4 separate regions of the Homo sapiens genome follow, and all the other regions are linked to region 4. Evidence: promoter capture Hi-C in 16 types of primary human blood cells and fetal thymus (Javierre and others, 2016). All regions are on one chromosome and are shown on one strand. The core of a region is centred on a gene start or on the middle of the fragment in contact, and the rest is flanking DNA. Distances in the headings are between cores, read along the strand shown.

What was found. The method cuts DNA at HindIII sites, captures the fragments that hold promoters and counts their contacts. A CHiCAGO score of 5 or more calls a contact.
Region 1: a fragment that was not itself captured here is called in contact with the fragment with the promoter of KCNS3 in region 4 in 1 of 17 cell types (endothelial precursors); the score reaches 6.1 in endothelial precursors.
Region 2: a contact is called between a fragment that was not itself captured here and the fragment with the promoter of KCNS3 in region 4, in 4 of 17 cell types (fetal thymus, megakaryocytes, M1 macrophages and 1 more). The highest score is 6.9, in fetal thymus.
Region 3: a contact is called between a fragment that was not itself captured here and the fragment with the promoter of KCNS3 in region 4, in 2 of 17 cell types (megakaryocytes and M0 macrophages). The highest score is 5.4, in megakaryocytes.

Annotation. Positions count from the first base shown.
Region 1 is chr2:18,371,970-18,377,914 of GRCh38, forward strand. No RefSeq gene overlaps it. Among named protein-coding and RNA genes, the nearest start is that of RDH14, 190 kb to the right of the region's middle. The HindIII fragment of the contact is 352 bases long and covers 2,115-2,466 here.
Region 2 is chr2:18,149,408-18,155,432 of GRCh38, forward strand. No RefSeq gene overlaps it. Among named protein-coding and RNA genes, the nearest start is that of KCNS3, 270 kb to the left of the region's middle. The HindIII fragment of the contact is 1,993 bases long and covers 1,833-3,825 here.
Region 3 is chr2:18,172,001-18,178,054 of GRCh38, forward strand. No RefSeq gene overlaps it. Among named protein-coding and RNA genes, the nearest start is that of KCNS3, 300 kb to the left of the region's middle. The HindIII fragment of the contact is 2,477 bases long and covers 593-3,069 here.
Region 4 is chr2:17,876,535-17,882,817 of GRCh38, forward strand. KCNS3 (potassium voltage-gated channel modifier subfamily S member 3) reads left to right here and starts at 2,133. Exons shown (of 3, transcript NM_002252.5): 1 at 2,133-2,272. LOC124907737 (a long non-coding RNA gene) reads right to left here and starts at 28. Exons shown (of 2, transcript XR_007086226.1): 1 at 1-28. RefSeq lists silencers at 1,744-1,903, 1,914-2,113, 2,204-2,253. The HindIII fragment of the contact is 4,070 bases long and covers 1-3,241 here.

The sequences.
Region 1 (5,945 bases), core at 1,041-3,540, 500 kb after region 4:
CGTTAAATATAAATGGTCTGAACACTCCAATCAAATGACAGAGATTGTCAGATTGAATAGGAAAAGTATGACCTCTGATTTCAACTTCAGCATGTAAACAGTTTGGAAGTCATCACTCTAGTCATCACAAGAAGAAGAAAAGCCAAGCAAACTAAAAATCCATGTCATTTCTGTGATCCATCAGAGGATTAAGATCACAGGGCAAACTACTACCCTGACATTTGGAGAGACTGGCACATATGAAGAACCACAGCCAAGATTAGCCCAAGAGTGGAAGGAACTGCACTCAGTAACTGGTAGGACCACCTAAACAATAATTTTCATGAATTGCTAAAGGTAGAGAGTATACTAGCTTGATACTTGAATGCTCCTAAAGAACCCAGTGTTAGGTGGTCCCCAACACCTAACAGGTGGTTGGGTGGTTGGGTGGTTGGTTTGCCACCAGAACACCCACCAGGTTCTCAAAGTGAGGATCAGAGAAATATCTCCTATGTTGCAGGCAGGAGGAGTGGGTAAAAATACATTCTGAAATACATCCAACAAAAAAGAAGCCATTTTGAAATATTATCAGAGAATTCTGTGTAACAATAGCCTGTCCTCTAGGGCAATATACTGCTTCACATCTTGGGGAAAGGCAATTAGACATTTTCCGACCTCTCTAGCCTTCTTGTCTCATGCAAGGGTGGGAAAAAAAAGCCCAAGAAATGCTTCTAAAGCTCACAGCCTGGAAACTCAGGCCCACTAAAAAACTGAGATTTAATCATAAGAATATACAATGCTTCTCTTTCTCAGCAGCTTACCATAACATAAACAGGACTCCAGTATAATAAAAATGAATTACAACAGAGAACAGCAAGCCATGGACTGTATTTATGAAGAAGTTCTTAGGGAAACCCAAACAACAGAGGAGAAAAAAAAACAAAATATACAAGGAAGCTGGAGGATACCAAAACCTCTGGAGCCTGAAACTACAACAAATAAATACACTGAAGCTCCTTGCCAAATTAACATAAAACCTTACACTAAAAGCCTAATTAACCTCATTTCCTATTACCCAATATGTCATGCCCACTTTCAATTAAAAATTGCAAGGCATGCTGAAAGACAAGGAAAAACACAAGAAGAGGGAAAGCAAGCAGCAGACTTAGAGATGAGACAGCTTTTGGAATCATTATATAGGGAAATTATGATAACTATGTTTAATATGAGGGGACTTCAAAAAGCTCACAAAAAATGCATATTATGAGAAAACTGTGCATGGATTCCAAAAATTGCCTGTACCAAAATAAACTCATAATGGCTTTTTACAACATGTCAGAACAGGATCTAGCCTGAGGCACTCGAAGAAGGATAAGAATCAGTTTGAAAGGAGCCCCTATCAGAGCAACATGAATTCTACTAAAATTGAAGCAAGAATAAACATCAAATCTATGGTGAAGCTTTGGTGGAAGAATGGTGAAGTCACTAGTGCTTTACAAAAAGTTTATGGGGACAGTACTCCAAAGAAAACAGTTTACAAATGGACAACTCATTTTAAAAAGGGATGAGACAATGTTGAGGATGAAGCCCACAGCAGATCATCCACATCAATTTGAGAGGAAACAATTAATCTTATTCATACCCTAATTGAAGAGGCCCGACAATTAACAGCAGAAACAATAGCTGACACCATAGACATCTCAATTGGTTCAGCTTACACAATTGGGATTGAAAAATTAAAGTTCTGCAAGGTTTCTATTTGATGGTTGCCAAAACCACTGCACCCAAATTAGCTGCGGTAAGAGCAGAGCATTCAATGGATTTTTAAAAATGAGATCAAGATCCTGAAGCATTTTTTGACAAACTGTAACAGGAGAAGAAACATGGCTTTACCAGTATGATCTTGAAGACCAAGGACTATCAAAGCAATAGCTACCAAGAGGTGGAAATGGTCCAGTCAAAACAAAAGTGGGCCAGTCAAGAGCAGAGGTCGTGGCAACAATTTTTTGAGATACTAAAGGCATTTTGCTTGCTTACTTTCTGGAGGGCCAAATAATGATAACATCTACTTATTATGAGAATGTTCTGAGAAAGTTAGCCAAAGCTTCAAGAAAAAAAAAAAAAAAGTTTGGGAAAGCTTCACCAGAGAGTCCTTCTCCACCATGACAATGCTACTGTCTGCAGTGCTACTCCACAGTGACAATGCTCATTCCTCTCATCAAATAAGGGCAGTTTTGCAAGGGTTTTGATGGGAAATTTGTAGGCACCCAGCTTATAGTTCTATTTGGCTCCTTCTGACATATTTTTGCTTCCTACTCTTAAAATACCTATAAAGGGCACCCATTTCTCTTCAATTAAAAAAGTAAATAGACTACATTGGCATGGTTAAATTCCCAGGGCCCTTAGTTTTTTATTGATAGACTAAGTGGCCGGTATCATTGCTTACAAAAGTGTCTGGACCTTGATGGAGTTTATGTTAGAAAACAAAGCTTATATTTTTTATTTTTATTGTTGAATTCAAATTTTCCATAAACTTTTGAAGTCCCCTCATATGCTAAGGGCTTTAATGGAAAAGCAGACAATATGCAAGAACAGATGGTTAATCTAAGAAGCAAGATTGACACTTTAAGAATCAGAAGGAAATGCTAGAAATAAACACTGTAACAGAAGACTTTTAAAAATTTATTTGCTAGGCTAATCAGTAGGCTAGACATGGCTGAAGAAAGTCAGTGAGCTTGAAAAGATGTCAAACTGAAATGCAAAGAGAAAAAAGAAATGAAAAATGGAACAGAATATCCAATAACTGTGGGATAATTACAAAAGATATCACATGAATATAATGGGAATACCAGAAAGAGAAAAAGAAACAGAAGAAATATTTGAGTTAATAATGCCCGAGAATTTTCCAAAATTAATGCCAGACACCCAACCCCTAATCTAGAAAGTTCACAGACCACCAAGCAAGATAAATGCTGAAAGATCTATAGCTAGGTATACCATATACAAATTACAGAAAACCAAAGACAGAGAAAATCATGAAAGTGGCCCTAAAATAAAAACACCTTATTTAAAAGAAACAAGGATACAAATCGCATAAGACTTCTATTCAAGAAGCATTCAAGGACGAAAAATGTGGAGTGAAATTTTTTTTTTTTTTTTTGAGACAGAGTCTTGCACTGTTGCCCAGGTTGGAGTGCGGTGACGCGATCTCGGCTCACTGCAACCTCTGCCTCCCAGGTTCACGCCATTCTCCTGCCTCAGCCTCCCGAGTAGCTGGGACTACAGGTGCCTGCCACCACATCCGGCTCATTTTTTTGTATTTTTTAGTAGAGACAGGGTTTCACTGTGTTAGCCAGGATGGTCTCGATCTCCTGGCCTTCTGATCTGCCCACCTCGGCCTCCCAAAGTGCTGGGATTACAGGCGTGAGCCACCGCACCCGGCCTGGAGTGAAATATTTAAAGTGTGACAATAACCCACCAAGCTACAATTATTATCCATAGAAATTTTCCTTCAAAAGTAAAGGAACAATAAAGACTTTCTCAGACAAACAGCAACTGAGGGAATTTGTGAGCAATAGACTTGCCTTGAAAGGAATGTTAAAAGAAGTTCTTCAGAAAGAAGGGAAATTATGGAAGTTAGAAACCTGGGTCCACATAAAGAATAAAAAAAAAATCAGAGAAGGGATAAATGAAGGTAAAATAAAATATTTTATTTTCCTCATTCTTAATTAATTCCTTAGAGTATTAATAGCTAGCAATGTGTTGCATCATTATAGCATACGAATACATGAGAAAAATGACAGCAAGGGTATTGGGGATGAAAGAGAGACACTGAGAATACTCTGTTACAAGGCACTGGCACTACCCAGGAAGTGCTATAGTGATGCTTGTAATGGACTAAGATTGGTTGTGAGTGTATCCTGGAAACTCTAGGGCAAACATGGAAGAAACAACTTAGGGCTCTACCCATCGCAAAGCTACTATACCAGTCCTGGAGAGTTTATGTTTATGTGAGGGAGAAATTAATTTCTATTTTATTTAAGCCTTATTTTTTTGATCATGACAAGAACATTTAAGATGAGATTTACTCTATTAACAAATGTTTATGTGCACAATGCCATGTTGTTAATTGTAGGCACAATATTGTGAGCAGAGCTCTAGAATTTATTTATCTTGTGTAAGTGAAACTACATACATTGAAGGGCAGGGGCCTGTTTTTTAAAGTTGTTTTGTTTTGTCATATACAGCCAAATAAAATGAATACTAATAATAAATAATAAAAACTGGCTTATGAATATATAGAAAAACTGCAGGGTTTTATAACTATTAAAAAATTAAATCAGTGCTTCAGGTCTTCCCACAAGGATCAAACAGGGTGCAAATGAATAAACAGGTTAATTCTACAAAGCTTTGATAGAAGAAAGAATTGCAGTCCCACAGCAACCAATTTTAGGATGTGTAACACAGAACACTCCCTAACGCTGAGATCAGGATAGCTTTGATAGAAACGTCTGAAAAGAACAGTATAAGGAAAGAAAGTGCCAGGCCACTTCTAATGATAGAGGAAAATCCAAAACAAACTCTTGGCAAACTGAATTGGACGATGTATAACAAATTGATAATTAATACTTTATGACAAGCTGTCTTTATTCCAAGAATGTAAGGTTGGTTCAAAATAGAAAATCTTTTCATGTGATTTGCCATGTGTATTAGTTTTCCATTACTGATGTAATAAATCCTGAAAATTTATCATATTATAGTTCTGAAGCTCAGAAGTCAGATGGAGGCCTCACTGCACTAAAATGAGGGTGCCGACGAGGCTGAATTATTTTCTGGAGGCTGCAGTGGACAATTTGTTTCCTTGGTCATTCGGATTGTTGGCAAAATCCAGTACCCTGTGGCTGTAGCACCGAGGTCTCTGTTCTCTTACTGGCCATAAACTGTGTGCTGATTCCAGCTTTGGGAGGCCATGGCATTCCTTGGCTCATGGTTTCCTTTCTCCTTCTTCCCAGCCAACAATGGTGGGTTAGTCCAATACTGCATCTCTCTGACCCACTCTTTCCCGCCCTCTTCCATTTTTAAGGATCATGTAATTAGACGGGGCTCACCTCTATCACCCAGGATGATATCCCCACCTCAACATCTTTAAACTTGATCCCTTCTGCAGAGTTCCTTTTGCCATGTGGGCTAACAAACTCACAGCTGCCAGGGATGAGATCATGGACGATGTGCCTACTGCATCATACTAAGAAACAGAGGGAAGAAAACTGTGGAATCATCACAATGAATTTTAAAGTAATATTTGAAGACATTAAACATTTTATCATTATTAATCTCTTACGAATGGATAAATTATGTATTTTAAAGAATTCCTTCAGAAAATATCATGCTCAATGATAAAATACTAAAAGTATTCCCCCAAAGATATGAGGAAAGACAAGGATACCAGCTATCCACTCTTATTTTAACCATTTACTGGTTGTTCTAGCCAATAAACTAGTATAAGACAAAGCAGGAGTACGAGGTTTGGAAAGGAGAAAGTAAACTATCATTAACTTCAAGTAATATAATTGTTTTCACAGAAAAGCCAAAAAAACTATAAAAATTGCTTACATTAATAATTTATATTTTTTTCTGATATTAATAAAAGACAATTGTATTTTATACACCAGCCATAGTTTTAAAACATGCAGTTTCAATAAAATACATAGTTTGCAAGTGAAGTAAGGAAATACAAGGTATTCAAATCTGTGCAAATCTGTGCAAAGCAAATATGGAAAAGTTATAAAATATTTTTCAAATACTTTTTAAAAAATGCTAAATAAATTGGGAGACATGTTTATGAATAGGAACATTTCCTTCTTTCCTGAGGTCATTTGGAGCCATGACTGTGATTTGTCACATTTGCTTCCTAGTGGCGTTTGTCCAATCAGTTGGGGAGGAGCACAAATGGACTGAATGGAAGG
Region 2 (6,025 bases), core at 1,579-4,078, 270 kb after region 4:
CATATTATAGAGTCATTCATTTGGATTCCCAGGAAGTAGTAATGTGTGTAATTCTGTTTTGTGTAAGAACTTTTCTGCGTACTTATATGTCTTAATCAGTTTTCTGTTGCTTATAACAGAACACCTGAACCTGGGTAATTTATAAAGAAAATGCATTTATTTCTTATTACTCTAGAGGCTGAGAAGTCCAAGGTTGAAGGGCCATCTGGTAAGCACCTTCTTGCTTGTGGGGGACTCTCTGTAGAGTCCTGAGGTGGTTCAGGTTATCACATGGTGAAGGGTCTAAGCATGTAATGTGCTAGCTCAGGTATTTCTTTTTTTTCTTATAAAGGCACCAGTTCCATTTTCATGATAACCCAATAATACATTAACCCATTAATCCGTTAATTCGTAAGTGGATTGATTCTTTCATGAGGGCAGAGCCCTTAAAGGCCCACTTCTCAATACTGCCACCTAGAGGATTAAGCTTCAACATGAGTTTTGGAAGGGATATTCAAATCATGGCAATATATTGCCTGACAAGCAATTCTGCTTTACATCCTTCGTGATTTCCCATAAATCTCTGAGGTCTTACTTTATTTCCAAAGGAGAAAGCTACTAGTCTCTAGAAAAAGTGTCTGATGCCTTGACTCATTTGCTTTGTAGAGTATTTTTGCTAGAAACCATAGTCTTACAAGAAGAGAGCAGAACTCACTATGTTCTTAACTTTGGTGTCAAATGAGGATTGTTTCAATCAAAGTCATAAAATTAAATAAACACTTTATTGGCAAAATGGCAAATATGCTATTCTTCCAAATGACTATAGCAATATAGTCCAAAGGACTAAGCTTCCAAATGACTAAAGCAATTTTCTTGCTTTGAACTTTCCATCCTGAGTCTTCACATTGATTAATTCACTCATTTATTCATGCAAAAATATCTCCTATGCATGTATCAGGCATAATTGTTAGAATGATGACTAAGGCACAGACCTAACCCTTAGGGAGCACACTGCCTATGGGGAGGACAGTCAATTAAAATGCAATCAAAGGGACATAGGACCAATGTTACGTTACCAGGAAACAGGCGAGGACAAAGGAGACTAAACTCAGCCAGAGAGTCTTAAAAAGTGATACCTACTCCACATTATCACTAAAATAGGAATTTTGATTGAAACTCTAGGGGTTGGCCTCAGAATTATAGCTACTTTCTTATCTATAATGAGCATTTGTGACTACTTTTGTTATATATATTCCTATGTGGAAAAAGGTTAAGTTTGTGTATTTTGCATGGGATGATAGTTTGGACTCCTACCATGTAATCTCAGCCTGTTCTTGGGAAATATTATAGACAAGTAGTTCTCAAAATGTATTAGAATCACTTAGGGGCTTAAAATGTCCAGACTCTACCCACCCCTAGAAAGCCTGGTTAATTGGTCTAAGGCAGAGATGGTGTTTTTCAGAAGCTTCTCCACATAATTGTAATATGCAGAATTTGTGATAGAATTCTGCCTCCAGATAAAATTGTAAAATGATCCTGCTGAAATGGCCCTTAGAAATCAGCCAGTGCAACTTCTATTTCCTATGTTAGAGAACTGGGTTGTGGTTTGTATTCCTTGGAAGGTATTTGTTATGGGTTGAAGTGGATCCTCCTAAAATTATTGATGTTGAAGTCCTAACCCCCAGTACCCCAGGATGTGACCTTATTTGGAAACAGGCTTCTATTAGTTCGTTCTTGCAATGCTGTGGAGAAATATCTGAGACTGGATAATTTAAAAAGAAGAGATTTAGTTGGCTCATGGTTCCACAGGTTGTACAGGCAGCACAGTGGCTTCTTCTAAGGAGGCCCCATCAAGCTTCTCGTCATGGTGGAAAGCAGAGGGGCAACAGATGTCTCATATGGTGGAAGCAGGAGCAAGAGAAAGAGTGAAGGGAGAGGTGCCACACATTTAAACAACCAGATCTCGTGAGAACTCATTCACCATCTTGTGAACAGCATCAAGAGGATGGTGCTAAACCATTTCATGAGAAATCCATCTCTATGATGCAATCACCTTCCACCAGTCCCTACATCCAACACCGGGGATTACAATGCAATATGAGATTTGTGTGGGGACACAGATCCAAACCATATCAAGGCTCATTTCAGATATAATTAGTTAAGGAGGTGGACTCTTAATCCAATATGACTGGTGTTCTTATTAAAGAGGGAAGGTTGGACTCAGAGATATGCACACAGGGGAACGTCATGTGAAGATTAGAATTCTGCCACAAAGCCAAGGAACTACCAAAAGGTTGGAGAGAGGCTTGGCACATACCCTTCCCCAGCACCTTCAGAGGGGGCATAGCCCTGCCGACAACCTGATTTTGGACTTCTGGCCTCCAGAACCTTTAGACATTGAATCTCTCTTGTATAAGTCATTCAGTTTGTGGTACTCTGTTAAGGCAGCCCCAGCAAACTCATACAGGATCTTTAACATGAACTTAGCCCTACCCTGGTCAACATGGCTATTCTCACTCCTAATGTGGTGAATGGGTTGCCCACTTCCTATTTTCCTCTCCATGATAGCCAGTGAAGGCAGGTCACAGGTCCCTGCTTATCTGAGGGAGGAGGGTGCGAGTGTATGTGGCCTGGGCAGCTGGGCGACTCTACCATGACCAAGGCCTTCTCTTGACACAGTCTGATTTGCCACTGCTGCAGCCAGGGACAGAGTGCTCTGCCCCCATGGAGAATTTACAAATGCATTTTGCTATCATTTGTAAAGCATGTCTCAGAAACAAGATTGCCAGTTAATATGAAATCTGTTTATATAGAATTAATGTCTTTATGATTGTGTGCATGTGTATGTGTGTATATGTGTGCATGCCTGTTTATGGGCATGAGAAGACCCAGACAGACACCTCTGACTTTGCTCTAAGGTCAGAGCACTGCTAGCTCTAGGGAGGGTTCTGAGTAGCCAGGGCTGCAGGCTCTCCCTGACCTGGTAAAGGCCTTTCTTCATGTTTCTTGGCCTTTCTATTCTCTGTTCTCTTCTCCGTTCTCAACATTTTCATTCTCAACCTTCCTTCTTTTAATTTTCCTATTGCCTTAAATACTCCTAGTACCTCTGAGCCTAGGAGGCAGATAGCGTATAATCATTTTTTCCCCTAGATCCCCTGGGAGGTGGCTGGGATATGCATAGTAAAAATTTTCTGAGGGTTCCTGAGGTAGATCTGTGTTTTTTTCCTTTCTCTTTCTGTGTTTGCATCATATCATAATAGAATTATAACTGTGGAGCCCTGGTTATGAAGGAGACCTGGAGATCACCCTGAGCAAAGTCAGAACAGAAAACTGGGTCCCAAAGGGAGAGTGGTCTTCCTATGGCCACACACTGACTGAGTGGGGAAGCTGAGTGGAGCCTTGGCCTTGTGACTCTCCATCTGCTGCTTTTGCACCCACAGCAATTCATATGTTGCATTTACTAAGCTGTAGGGTCCTGAACAAGTATTTTAATGACTCTGAGTCTTGTGTCCTCATTTACAAATGAGGATCATGTTATTTAGGTGGCAGGATTGAAGATTACAAGGATTTCTGTTTTGGAGTTGCTTCACTTAAGAAAAAGGCCTCCAGTTCCATCTATGTTGCTGCAAAAGAATATTATTTTATTCTTTCTTATTGCTGGGTAGGATTCCATTGTGTATATGTACCAGATTTTCTTTATCCATTAATCTATTGATTCTATATCTTTGCTATGGTGAATAGTGCTGCAATAGACTTATGAGTGTAGGTATCTTTTTGATATGTAGGAAATATATGGTAAGCCCTGATTTCATCCCTTGCAGCCAGAAGATCCTCAGCATCTAGTTAAGCTTGAGCGTTGTGAGGACAGATAAGGATGATGTTCTGGAAGATAGAGTTTATGCAACTTAATACAAATGATTTGTTCCTCACTGTAGTCTCTCTGTTGAAGTGTGTGCTATCAGTTTCCAAAATTATGAATAGCTTGAGTTGCATCAGCAGAAAGGCAGAAAAAAGAACAAAGCAAAAACACAACATATCTCTAGCCGGCCAATCTACCTATTCAAGCTGGTTGATTTTTCATTTAAAATTTGTTTTTTAAAACCCTCGTAAGAATGGAAGTAGAGATCTCTACTCTTCCTCTTTCAAATACTTCTGAGACTAGAAGATCAGAGGAGGAAGGAGAAGAAAGGAAAAGAGAGAAGAAGGCTAACACAGAAGTCAGCCTATGATCTTGGAAAGAAGGATGTCACCTCAGGCCCTGTGACAGGTGCAATTGGAATATAGAAGGGGCCAGGCTGGCAATGTATTGTGTCTTGTAAAGAATGAGGGCAGAGGGGCAAGGCATCCCCATCTTCTGAGGGGTTATAGTGACACGGTGTCAGGTCTGCTGGGTCCTAGAGGTCATCTTGAACAACCTCTGTCTTCAACAGACAGAAATTAGAGGCCAGGAAGGCAAATGAGAGAGACAGTGTTTATTGTCTACAAGCCCTGGAATAGGTCCTTATGACACATTGTCTAATTTTGTTTGCTGTGACAAGGCTTCATTAACCCTGTTTTCAAGGCAGAAAACCTGGCATGAGAGCAGATGGGAAAGGGCTGCACCTGCCTTGCCACTCAAGCCTGCCCAGATGTTAAGGAATGTTTTTTACCATGGGAAGCCAAGAGTGTAAAGCTTCCCCTTTATGGACTCAGTGGAAGTAAAAGTAACATTCACAACTACTTGTCACTTAATGGAGAGGAGATTTCTCATTTTAACAGAACAGACATTTGTTACCAAATGTAGTTGGCTGACTAATGGCCTCCAGCAATATCCAAGTCCTAGTTCCTGCAACTTACAAATGCTACCTTTTTGGCAAGAGGGACTTTGTAGATGTGATCAAGTTAGGGATCTTGAGATGGGGAGATTATCCTGGATTATCCAGATAGGCCCTAAATAGAATCACATTGTCCTTGTAAAAGGGAGGCAGAGAGAAGTTTGACTACAGGTGTGTATTAGTCATGGTTCTCTAAAGGGGCAGAACTAATTGGATAGATGAATATGTGAAGGGGAGTTTATTAGGAGGACTGACTCACACAATCACAAGGTGAAGTCCCACAGTAAGCCATGTGCAAGCTGATGAGCCAGGAAGCCAGTATGAGTCCCAAAACCGCAAAAGCAGAGAAGCCGGCAGTGCAGCCTTCAGTCTGTGGCTGAAGGCCCGAGAGCCCCTGGCAAATCACTGGTGTAAAGTCCAAGAGTCTAAAAGCTGAAGAACTTGAAGTCTGATGTTCAAGGGCAGGAAGCGTCCAGCACAGGAGAAAGATGAAGGCCAGAAGACTCAGCCAGTCTAGTCTTTACACGTTCTTCTACCTGCTTTATTCTAGCTGTGCTGGCAGGTGATTAGATGGTGCCCGCCCTGACTGAGGATGGGTCTACCTCTCCCAGTTCACTGACTCAAATGTTAATCTCCTTTGGCAACACCCTCACAGACACACCCAGGAACAATGCTTTGCATCCTTCAATCCAATCAAGTTGACACTCTATATTAACCATCACAAGATGTAAAAGGCAACATGAAGACTGAAGTCAGATGCTACACCACTGGCTTAGAGGATGGAGGGAGGAGCCACAGGCCAGTTATGCAAGAAATGCAGCTCTAGAAGCTGAGAAAGGCACAGAAATGATTTGCCCTTGGAGCCTCCAGAGGGAGCAGGGCCCTGCAGGTGCCTTGATTTCAGGCCTCTGAAACTGATATGAGACTTTTGATCCCCAGAACATTGTGCTGTTTTAACCACCAAGTTTGTGGTACTTTGTTACAGCAGCTGTAGGGAATGAATGCACCAGGGACAACTATTCCTATCAGTGAAGATGGGGTTTAGGGGTATGATGGCCTTGGTGACAGCAGAGTCCCACTGAGCGTGCCCATTTCTTGTCACAAACATAGTCATGAATGTTCAACGATGCGGCATCTGGGCCAGTTGTAGAGTATCTGGAGAACAGAAAACTGCCACTGAAGGCTAAAGGTCTCTGACCATGATTTTAACTGGTTAATCTGAGTATCGGGTA
Region 3 (6,054 bases), core at 581-3,080, 300 kb after region 4:
ATTTCCAAACAATGAATGGTTTTTAGGTGGAAAATACAATTCTGGTTTAGTGTTTTTCTAAGATCTTTTCCTTTAAGATGAAAACCAGGGCTTAGTTACAAAGGTGGACATGCTGTCTAGACATCATGAATGCTAAAAGAAATGTGTGTGTTTGTATGCACCTGTGCACACACTATAAGCATATGAAACACACCTGTGACCTATGCAACAAATAAAAGTGACACGTCATGAATGCTCCCCAAATCTAACTTCAGTGCTACATTTTAAAAAAGTGATGGGGAAATACCTTCTTCTGGAGGCTAGATTGCCTCTGTATGTGTGTGTGGGGATTGTAGGAGTAGGGAGACTTCCTTTTTGATAGGGAACTTGGGGTAGAGAATCAACCAAAAAGCAGCCATCAGAGACTCGTATGCATCCAGGACTGTTCTAGGTAGCACGGAGGACTCTGGTTAAGAATACAGTGATGAAGCTTTGAATGTCCAGTGAAGCTGGGAGGGCACAACTGACACGCATGAAATGGTTTGAGAGTAGACTATAAGGAATAAATGAGTCTGGGGGAAAAAGAGATCTAAGAATTTTAGAAAAATGGTAAAGCTTTAGAAAAGAAGGAAGCATCGTTTCTCGGCCTTTTGGCTAAGATTAAGTGAAAAGAAGGAGGCAGCTTCCCAGGAAAAGTAAAGTTGAAGGTGAGCCTTGGAGCATGCTCTTTGCAATGTTTTGGGTATTTACTTATCCTCTTAATTAACTGAGCAGGAGAAAAAATGCATTTTTCTAGCTGATTTTCCTTGGCACAATTGCAGGCCACATGATGCCACCCATTGGTTGAAGCTGAGATTGTAAATATCTCCCAGAGAAGCTAAATGTAGAGGGATTCACACAGAAATGGAGACCACAAAGATCTATAATGCCTCAGCTAAAGTTTGCATCAATTTTATATTAGCATTTACATTTGTAATATGGGGAAAATATCTGTTTGCCAACATTACATAAGCAGATTTAAAGTACCTAACATATTTTACTGAACACAGACATAGATGTGTATAAAGCAGCTGTGGTACATTTTTCCTCCCCTGGATCAAGGCTAGAATGCTAATTTTCAGTGAAGTTTCTGGAGAATATGGTAATTTGTTATCTTAGCAAATTTTCAAGCTAAATTCATTCCCTTTTTTCTCAGCTTCCTTTCACCACAACCTACTCTGGTTCTAGAAAAGTATTGAACCGAAAAGCTATTGACTGCGGATTGATTGGTTTTAGATTTTTTTTTTACAATATTTTAATATTGGTTTTATTTCACATTTAGGCAGCTTGAAAAACCATAAAACATCCTTTGCTGTGGTCAAAAATTTTAAATCTCATATTTTTAAGAGGATTATGTGTCTTTGTATGTTTGTGTGTGAAACACTGAACTAGAATTTGTGGTCTCATTGTAGTCATATTATTTTGGATAGAAGTTTATACATTCCCAGTGCAGATCTTAAACAATACCTCTGTGGTAGCTACAAACATATTAAGAAAGCTAGCTTTGAATGGAGATTTATAATTCTAATTCAGTAAAGACTACTGAAGTACCATTAATCTTTCCATGCCCAAATCCTTAATTTTTACCCCCTTCATCCACTTTGAACCTAATCAACTGAAGCAGGACTGGAAGCATAGAAACTAAAGCATAGACTTTGAGTGGTTGGAGACATTTAACATTTAGATTTCCAGTCTCTTGATGAACAAAGTTACTGAAATTCTGACCTAGCAGAGGCAAATGGGCATAGTGCACACTTGAAATCTATATGTGAGGTTATCTCATGAATTATTCTATTTGAGAATAAGCTGAAAAGAAATAGGTATTCCAAACTCAGATATGATGCTGGTATTCAAAAAGAGCAAATAGACCATAGAAGTGAAAAACATTAAAATAATTTGATCAAGGTTTGGAAAGGTGACTGGACATAGAACTAGGCTCTCATTGATATGTGCATTTTACTTCTCTCTTTCTCCTATTAGCAGACTATCACTATATTAATATGGCCTTCCCTTTTTCCTTGTTTAGGTATTTCATTGGAAAATAGAACTTAAAGGTTTTCTTCTATTTTGTTTTTACAGTTAAACATTAAACTTTAGTGCAAAGGCATTTTCGTTTGATCTTGCCTGAATGGTTCAATATTATTTCTTGGTATTTTTGAACTTTCATATAATTCAGTAATTCTTCAATTATGCAAGTGTAATTTATGGAAAAATAGTAGCATTTTACAGGTGGGCATGGATAGAGCTCTAGCTCTGGAGTCAGGCAGACACAGCAACAAATCCTAGGTCTTGTGGGGACCAGATGTATAAGACTAATCTGGACACTATAATTCTTTCACCATCGGTTTCAGGAAAAGTAAAGAAAATAATTTTCTCCTTGTAGATATTTTTGTGAGATTATATTTGTAAAATGCTTGGCAGAGAGTCAATGGCAGTTCATTCATTTCTTTATTTACTTTAGACAGGGTCTTTCTCTGTCACCCAGGCTGGAGTACAGTGGTGCGAACATGGCTCTTGCAGCCTTGACTTTCTAGGCTCAAGCGATTCTCCTGCCTCGATTTCCTGAATAGCTGAGACCACTGGTGCATGCCACCATGCCTGGCTAACTTTTAAATTTTTTGTAGAAACAGGGTCTCTCTATGTTGCCCAGGGTGGTCTCAAACTAGTGGGCTCAAGCGATCCTCCCACCTTGGCCTCCCGAAGTGTTGGAATTACAGGTGTGAGCCACCATATCCTGCCTCAATGGTAGTCTAATAAAGACAATTTGTAATCCAAACTTGAAAAAATATCAACTCAGTTCTCTTACATTTATGTTTAATAAATGTTGCAGGGAGATGAACTCAGAACTTTGTATCTTAGAATATTTGCAGTTTCTTCTTATTATAGTTATTTGGGTCTTTGTCTCATCATCTACTCTATGAGCCTCCGGTGGAAGGAGACTGTGATTTCACCATTGTGGTATCCTTTGCAGTGCGAGTTCCCAGTATATCATTTGCCAAACCCTGGTCCCAAAATATGCTCCTCCAGGGAGAAATGGTCCATGATATAATAAGCTTGGGAAATGTTGCACACTCACTATGGCCTCTCTAAGTGCTTTCCAACTCGCATTAACTCACTGAATGCACTGAAAAGCTAGGTAGAAGAAAATCTTCACAATCTATATGTCTGTCAAAGGATTAATATCCAGAATCTGCAATGAACTCAAATCAGTAAAAAAAGACAGTCCCATCAAAAAGTGGGCTAAGGACATGAATAGACAATTTTCAAAAGAAGATATACAAATGGCCAACAAGCATATGAAAAAATGATCAACATCACTAATGATTAAGGAAATGCAAATCAAAACCACAATGCAATACCACCTTACTCCTGCAAGAATGGCCATAATCAAAAAATAAAATATCAGTAGATGTTGGAGTGGATGCGGTGATCAGGGAACACTTCTACATTGCTGGTGGGAATGTAAACTAGTATAGCCACCATGGAAAACAGTGCGGAGATTCCTTAAAGAACTAAAAGTAGAACTACCATTTGATCCAGCAATCCCACTACTGCGTATCTACCTAGAGGAAAATAAGTCATTATTTGAAAAAGATACTTGCACATGCATTTTTATAGCAGCACAATCCACAATTGCAAAATAGTGGAACCCACCCAAATGACCATAAATCAATGAGTGGATAAAGAAACTGTAGTATATATATATGATGGAATACTACTCAGCCATAAAAAGGAATGAATTAACAGCATTTGCAATGACCTGGGTAAGACTGGAGACTATTATTCTAAGTGAAGTAACTCAGGAATGGAAAACCAAACATTGTACGTTCTCACTGATATGTGGGAGCTAAGCTATGAGGACGCAAAGGCATAAGAATGATACAATGGACTTTGTAGACTTGGAGGGAAGAGTGAGAGGGGAGCAAGGGGTAAAAGACTACAAATATGGTGCAGTGCATACTGCTTGGGTGATGGGTGCACCAAAATCTCATAAATCACCATGAAAGAACTTACTCATGTAACCAAATGCCACTTGTACCCCAATAACTTATGAAAAAAATTTTAAAAAGGGAGCTCTAACTCTGTTTAACTTCATGTTTCTCAAACTTACTTGATTATGTTTGTTTTTTAATAGCCTCTTAATATTTGGCGTAACCCTCCTCTTATAGTGGCTAGTGCAGTGTTTGCAAAGTAGGTGGGCAGTAGATGTAGGGCATTATGTTGTATGTATTTATATTACATTTCATATGTTTCATTTTATATAAATCTTAATGCTACACAACCTTTTTTAGATACATCTTGCCATTTATTATTTAACATAATTTATATATTTACCAAATATATTTCAAAAAATATGTATATATATGATAAAACCAGAATTAATATTTTAAATTTACCAAAAGCCCTTGGGAAAATATTATTGTAACAGCTCTTTAATCCTGTCCACATTAAATAGATTTGATTTTTCTCATCAGTTTAAGAACCCTTAGGCTACTGGAAAGAGAATTGAGTTCCATATGTGAAATGTGCCCACTTAAATTAAAATGTTAATTAAAACAATAGCAACAATTGTAAAAACAATGGAAATTTCTGTTCTTTTAAAATGAATCGTGTTGGATGAAGTTAACTCTGAAAAAGTGAGATTCCATTTGGTGATACATGAAAACTATCAAAGTTAAACACAATATCCAACTCTCAGCTCATAAATGTTAGAGTAACATCTGTTCTGATGACTCCTCTTGTGGGAGCAATAACAGATAGGTATTTCCATAAATGGGTACACCAGAAAGCAGAAACTTAGCATGCTAAGTACAATTTTTAAAAATCTCATCTATGATAGAAATCATTCCTAACCACACATTTCTCATTCTTATTATCAGCTCAAAGAAAATATAATTTGACCCATTCGTCATGACTCTGAGATGACCTCCTTTTTGCTTCTTACTCTAAGTAGTCCTGCACTGCAGCTGTCTTATATATTCATTGTCAGCATCTCACTTGGCTGCCAATATGCCCTTCTCAGATGCTCTTTTCTCCTTGTCATCCATGCCCCACCAGCTGGACCCATCCAGATCTGGCCTCTAATTTGAAGATAATAGAGACATAAGATAAACTGTTAAACCAGTAGCTGGGTGTTTGTAGCAAGCATTTGTAAATCAATAAGGCTACGTAAGAATCTGAAACATTGCTTCATAATTATTACTGTTAATTTTTATTCTCAAACGCTGGGAGGTATATTTTTTTCATTTTTGTTATTACATACTAGGTGTATATATTTTATATATTTATGGGGTATATGAGATATTTTGATACAAGCATGCAATGAGCAATAATCACACCAGGGTAAATGGGATATCCATCACCTCAAGCATTTATCTTTTAGGTTACAAACAATCCAATTATACTCTTTCAGCTATTTAAAAATGTACAATTAAATTGCTATTGACTATAGTCACCCTGTTGTGCTATCAAATGCTAGATCTCATTTATTCCTTCTAACCATAATTTTTTGTTTGTTTGTTTTTTGCGATGGAGTCTCGCTCTGTCACCCAGGCTGGAGTGCAGTGGTACTATCTCGGCTCACTGCAAGCTCCACCTCCCGGGTTCACGCCATTCTCCTACCTCAGCCTCCCAAGTAACTGGGACTACAGGCGCCCACCACCAGGCCCAGCTAATTTTTTTTTTTTTTTTTTTTTTTTGAGACAGAGTTTCACTCTGTCACCCAGGCTGGAGTGCAGTGGCAGTGATCTCGGCTCACTGCAAGCTCCGCCTCTCAGGTTCATGCCATTCTCCTGCCTCAGCCTCCCAAATAGCTGGGACTACAGGCGCCTGCCACCATGCCCGGCTAATTTTTTGTATTTTTAGTAGAGACAGGGTTTCACCGTGTTAGCCAGGATGGTCTCGATCTCCTGACCTCGTGATCTGCCCGCCTCGAGAGACAGGGTTTCACTGTGTTAGCCAGGATGGTCACGATCTCCTGACTTCGTCATCTACCCGCCTTGGCCTCGCAAAGTGCTGGGATTACAGGCATGAGCC
Region 4 (6,283 bases), core at 883-3,382:
TCAGGGGTCATCCGATGTGGTCCTTTTTATTATTTCATTGGCTTCACATGATTACCCTGGGAGAGAGGAAATTTCCTTACAGATGACAAAATCAGGGCTGAAAGACGAAGTGGCTCCCTGCAGGGCTCAGCAGGGTAAGAAGTCCTGTCTGTCTCTGTCTCAGATCTGTGGCCCTTCTCTGTGCCCACTCCTACATGCCCACCGTGGAGGCCCACCCCTTCTGTCCTCAGCTCCTGCAGATGCACAGGGGCCCTTACTGGCTCCCACTGTGTGTGCCTTCCCGACTGCTCACATGTTCCGCCCAGACCCCAGGAGAAAGACCTCACTGCCAACTCTTCTGCACTGCAGGTGCCTTCTGCAGTGCTTAGAGATTCTGAACATATTTCCTTCTCAAGTAAACCATGCTGGACTTTTTGGATAAACTTAGTGATTTTAAAATGATTAAATAGGTAACTGCTGGGAGAGATCTGGAAGCATTCTTCTAAGGTGTTGATAAAATGTAAATATATTTTTAGAACAATCTTAGAGCTTATGCTAAAGATGAACTATGTAAGAAAGTTACCTTCTTCAGCCACTTGTAAATAGCAGTGTGGACCAATGCTTTGGATCCTCTTCCACAGGAGAGGAGACAAGATTGGAGGAACCAAAGAACCATGGAATTAGGGACAAATGGCTCAGAACAGTGCTCTGCAGACACATGCATCTGTACTTTGCTTCCCAGAAGCCAAATGAAACTGTTGGAGCTTGGTGGGCTCCAGGCCTCAGGGGGAAGACCACCCTAGGCTTTATCTTTTCCTCTGCCCTTCCTGCCTGCTGTTAGCCTCTCCTCTGGACCAAAACTCCCTTTAAGGGGAAAACCTCCTCTTTGAAGCCCACAAGATACGGTGAGGATTACTGCCTTTTTCTGATTTCCAACGTGGGTTTTTCATTAAGCAAAGAACAATTAGAAAACCCACACATAACATAGGGTATTCAGTAAGTTCAGGAAAGTGTTTTCCACCATCTCTTTGCCCCCATTCCCTCCCCAGCGCTTGGCTCAAGGTCTGGAGCTTGAATCTGCATCGTCTTCCTAGGTGCTTGCCTGAGGTGAGTGGTCAGCGGGTGCTGGCTTGGGGGCAGCTGGCAGGGCGTATGCTGCGGGTAGGAACCCAGGGAACACTGGGCGCCTTAGCTTGGAGCAGCTGGCTCCGAGGAATTGTTCCACGTCTGCACAACTTAAAAATCTGCAGTTTGGGGGCGGGAGGGGGAGCGCGGGGGTGGGTCCCGAAGCGTCCCATTTCTCCTCCTGGCTGTTAACTGAGCGCTCTCGCTCAGTGCAGCGAGGCCAGCGATGCCTTCTGGACCACACGCTGTCCTCGCCGAGGTCCTGGTTTGTTCCTCAACGTCGGCTGAAGGCATCGTCCCCTGACTTCCTCTTCCATTCGTCCTTCCGAAAGGGGACCCGACTGGTTCCTCTTCTACATATGAGGCGCATCTGCTTGGTGCAAATGTCCAAGCACCTCTTCTGACTCGGTGAGTGGAGGAATAAGACAAAGCATCTTGTTCTGCACTGTGCCTGAGTCTTCAGGCAGCGGGACCGATGGCAAACATTGGCAGGAACTGGAGCTATATGTACTCTCCTTCGCACTTTGTTTTAAAACAAGTTTGGGCCTCGCGATTTCCTGAGGAAATCCAGGCAAATTAGCAAAGTGTCGCTTGGGCCGCGACTTTAGAAAGGCGGTTGCCCCAGCCGCCGGGGCCGCGGGGGAGGTCATCTTTTTCCCGCAGGGCCACGGCGCTTCCGGCCCAGGAGGGCGCGCAGGTGGGAGGCGCGGGGCGCGCTCCTGGTCCCACCCGGACAGCGCCTGCCGCTCCGGGGTGACTCTGCACTTGGGCCTGGGCGGGGGCGCGCGGCCGGCAGGGCAGCATCTAGGTCTATGGGTCTGTCCGCCTGTCTGGCGGTCGGAGCCCCGCAGTCCTCAGCCGCCCGCGCCCTCGGCCCGGGGCGCCCGGCTGCGGGCCCGAAGCGAGGGGCTGGCGGAGCTGCGACCAATGGGGCGGCGGCCGAGCGGCGGGCCCCGCCCCGTCCCGTCCGGCCCCGCCCCGCCCGCAGCTCCCGGGAGCCTCGCTCTAGCGGGGCGGGACCGACGGACAGACCGGCCGACGCGGGCCACCCCGCTCTCCTCGCCGCCGCGGCGGCAGGCGCGGGGCCGCGCCGCGAGGCCTGATCCCTGCAGCGCGGGCAGGCGGCGTCGCAGAGCGGAGCTAGCTGGATGCGTCCGGACTCCTGCAGGTACCTGGCTGGCGTCCCCACCTCCCTGCGCGCTCCGGAGACTTCTCCGGGCGACCCTGCAACTTTACCGCGCCTTCCCCCACCTTTTGCTGCCCCAGTCTCCTGTGGTCCAGGTCGCGGGTGCACGACCCCGAGGGTCTACGGCCGCAGAGCACTTTCCGTCCTTCTGGGCGTCTGGCCCGCGGCGCCCGCATCCTCTGGTCCCCAGAGCCCGCCGTCGCTGGAGCCCTAAGGCTCCGCCTGTTGCGTGAACTGCGGGCTGTTGAAGCGGTGGCTGGGTTGATTTGAAAGCCTCGGGGAAGGTATTTAGGATCAGCTTTCGGGGAGTGGGGTGGGCTATGGTCAGGGGGAGGACCACCTGGAGGCGGGAGAATCGATGAGCCGAAGAAAGGCGGCACCTCGCGTAGGGGCATCCCCGGGGCGTTTCCTTGGCCGGGAAGCCGTTCCTTCCCTTCCTCGAGAGGAGGCGCTTTCCTGGCGCTTGTAAATGCTTCCCGGGCCGTCTGCTCCGCCTTCTTTGTCATTCCTCCCCTCCCCTTTGCCCTGCAGCTGTGCTAGGCGCCCCGCGACAGTTGCAGGGAAGAGCGAACCCAGGGCCCTTGCTCTCGTGCAGCGCTGCGCCCTGGGTGGGGACGGCGTGAGGCTTGCAGCGCAGGTGTGGAGTCACTTGCGGACTCTGCGTTTGGATCAGTGGCAGTGGTGGGGAAGGGTCACCCCGGGGTCAGGAACTCCTCTTTTTTTTTTCGCGCCTTTCTGGGTGGCTGCCCGACCTCCTGAGGCACCTTGGCTAGCAAGCGAGCCAGTCTTGCCGGCAGGGGCCGCGGCGAGCCTGGCTGGGCGCCTTTCGCATTGCAGGGCTTGTCCTGCACCCCCAACCCCGCTCTGTCCCTTCTCGTTCATTTGGAGAAAGGAGCACCTTTTGCATTCTTGATGTCTCCCCCCGGTTTTGTCTGGGGAGACCGAGCCGAAAGCTTCACTCGGGTGGCCCGCAGCAGGGGCAGAGGACAGCAAAGAGCTACCTCCACCTGCCAAAATGACCCAGGGGCCCTGGTTTGGTGCCAAGGCGTGAAGTGGGGGGAGGGGCGGTAGGTGTTCCTTACGTTCCTGCCGGAGAGTAGCTTTGTGGTTGGCCCGGAGCCTTCGTTCGGGTTTTTTGTCTTTCACCCTACCCTCTGAAAATACTGGAGCAGATGAGTACAAACAGTTCAGAAGCCTTTCCTGTTTCTTTCCCTGTATTTACTCAAGCGATTTGCGTAACCATTCACTTGGAACTGTGTAAGTCACTCCTAGTTGCCCCCCTTCTTAGACTATTTGCAAATACCTGCCCAGGTAAACAGGAAGCACGCACCTATCTCTTAGCTGAAGGCATATGCCCTCGTGCTTTGTCTTCCCTGCATATCTGGAGCCGAAGAGGTGGCTTTGATTCTCTAGCTGAACTTGGTGTAATGTGCAGGCTCCACTTCTTACCTGGGTGGTGACCTTCTTGAGGAGATTGACTCGTTCAGTATGCATTTCCAACCAGCCCGCCATGGGCCAGGCCCCAGGATGCACTCGGGGACAGACAGCAAATGGATGATATAATTTCTGCACCCAGTCTAGTCTGTTCTTTCTTTCTCACCAGCTTCCCTTCTTCTCTTGTTCTAATATTATGTTTGTCGTTTCTGAACTAGGAATTGTCAATATTGGGATCCGGAGAAGGTCATATGAAGGTGCCATAGAACTCTGAATCCAAAGCATGTTGTGAATATACTAAGGAGACTTGCGGGATCAGTATTAATTGAATCTTTTGTCTGACCCATAATTGCCTGAATAGAGCCATTGATGAATGCAGCTACGCTAAGGTTTTGCTGGTCAAGTGTATGAGGGCAAATTGGGAGGTCAGAAGCAGTCTTTGTTCTGTTCTGAAATATTATAATATTAAAAATCCAAAGCTCTGGAGCTTGAGTTTGCCAGCAAAGCACCAACTGAGTATCATCATCTTCTTTTAAGAAGGAAGGGGGAGAGTGGGAACTGCAGCTCCCTCCTGTCTTCAGTGGGTTTTGCCCTTCACTGTAATTCTTCACAGACGTGCATCCCTCTGTTCTACCACCCATCTCAATCTGCCCTGTGTCTGGCATTTGCCATTGGAATGTGTGTCAGCTTTGAGAGAGTAGGCACCACAGGGTTTTCCTCCTCCTTTTCCTTCTATTTTTTAATAGATAACATTTATTAGCTGCATACTATATATCAGATACTCTGCTAGGCACTTTTCCAGGCATTATCTCATTTAATTCCCATAACAACTGCATGAGGATGTGATGCTTGCTTTCTTCACTGCAGTATTGCTGTGGGAGCCAGCAGTAGATGGAACCCCCCAGGTGCATGTTGAGTCAGATGGGAGGCCAGTGGGAAATGGTGGGCCTGAGGTCTCACTAGGAGGAAGGACGACTCTGCAGGGTATGTTGAAGCAGAGAAGGTGGGTGTGTTTATTGACTCTGCTTATCAGGTGTCAGGAAAGTGCATCTTCCAGAGTGCCACCTGTGTGAAATACCCACAAAGAAACATCATAGAGAAGAGAATAGGATGTGGGGACCCAGTTTCCAGCTGTGATATCTATTTCTTTATGGCTCCTTGACTTGACATGTCATTTTGCTAATCTGGGTCTTGGTCTGTTTAGCTGCACTGACCTAGATCTCTAATATTTGTTGTTACGCTGTACTAGGCACTAAAAGCTAAAAGCTTTTACATGTATGAACTCACTTCATCCTGATGACAATCTTAGGATGGTAGGTTCTATTATCACCGTATTTTACAGGAGGAAAGAGAGACAAACTGAGTAACTTGTACAAGGTCACCCAGCCCGGAAAAGGTGAAGCTAGGATTCTATCCCTTGCAGTCTGACTGCAGAGCCACTGTGAGATTCAGTTTTCCTCATTTATTCCTACAGTTCCAACACTGTTCCCTGTGCTTAGTGGGATCTCGGACTACATTTGTTGAACAGTGACAGAGGGGGCTTACAGTTACCAAGTGACTTTTGGGTCCCATGTCTCAGCCTTAAAAGGAATCTCAAAGACTGCGTTAGCAAAATATTATTTTTGCCTTTGACAAAATGGTCTGCTTTTCGGTGAAATTCTGCCCAGCTGGTTAGGAAAAAAGGAAGATAAACCATAAAGATCATGGGCCAGGGAAACATTATGGTGAGTTTCAGAAAATGTGTTTATCAATATAAGAAATTCAGAAAAACCACAGAACACTTTGTACTCCGACGCAAATTTGTCAAGTAAATCAACCAGTGACCAATTCACAAGTGCTTATTGTATGGGTGCTAAGTGCCCAGTACTACAGGCAATGAAGGTAGGCAGAATCTATGACATGGTCTCTGAGCTTGAACTTATAGTGGATCTGGAGACTCCAGATCAGTGAGACAAGATAGAACAATACAAGATGCTAAATGTTTAAGTCCTGATAAAAATCACAATGACTCGGTCACATTTGTATAACCTATTGTGGTTTGTAGGAACTTTCACATGGGATATCTCATTCCAGTCCTCAGAGCAACTGAGAGTTATAAGCTATAGGTGGGACAGAAGTTAGGAAGCCCATATTGCTGATGAAGAAATTAAGGCAAACTGAGCCTTGAACTTGGACACAGTCAGGGGTCTTCTGACTTTAAGTCCAGCATCTTTCTGCCTCACTTCTCTCTGGAGCTAGAGAGCAGAACAGGAGGGAGTGAGCTATCGAGAGTCCTTGGGGAGTGGGGAACTGAGTTTGAATTTCATCCTGGACCTGGCCTTTGCTTGCTGGTCTTGACTACTGTGGGTGCTTATTGGAGGCAGGGGATGGGGAGTAAGTACAAGCTGGGGAGGAGGAGAAAGAGGAGAAGAGTGTTGTTGTTTTATTGTTTCAGGGGCCTGCTGTTTTGTGAAGCCTGGAGTGAATACTCAATTATCATGAACATAATAACAAGGCTTAAAATGTACAACAAAATGTAGAAACTGATTTAGAATTTTCATCCCTGTTTTTCTTTATCAT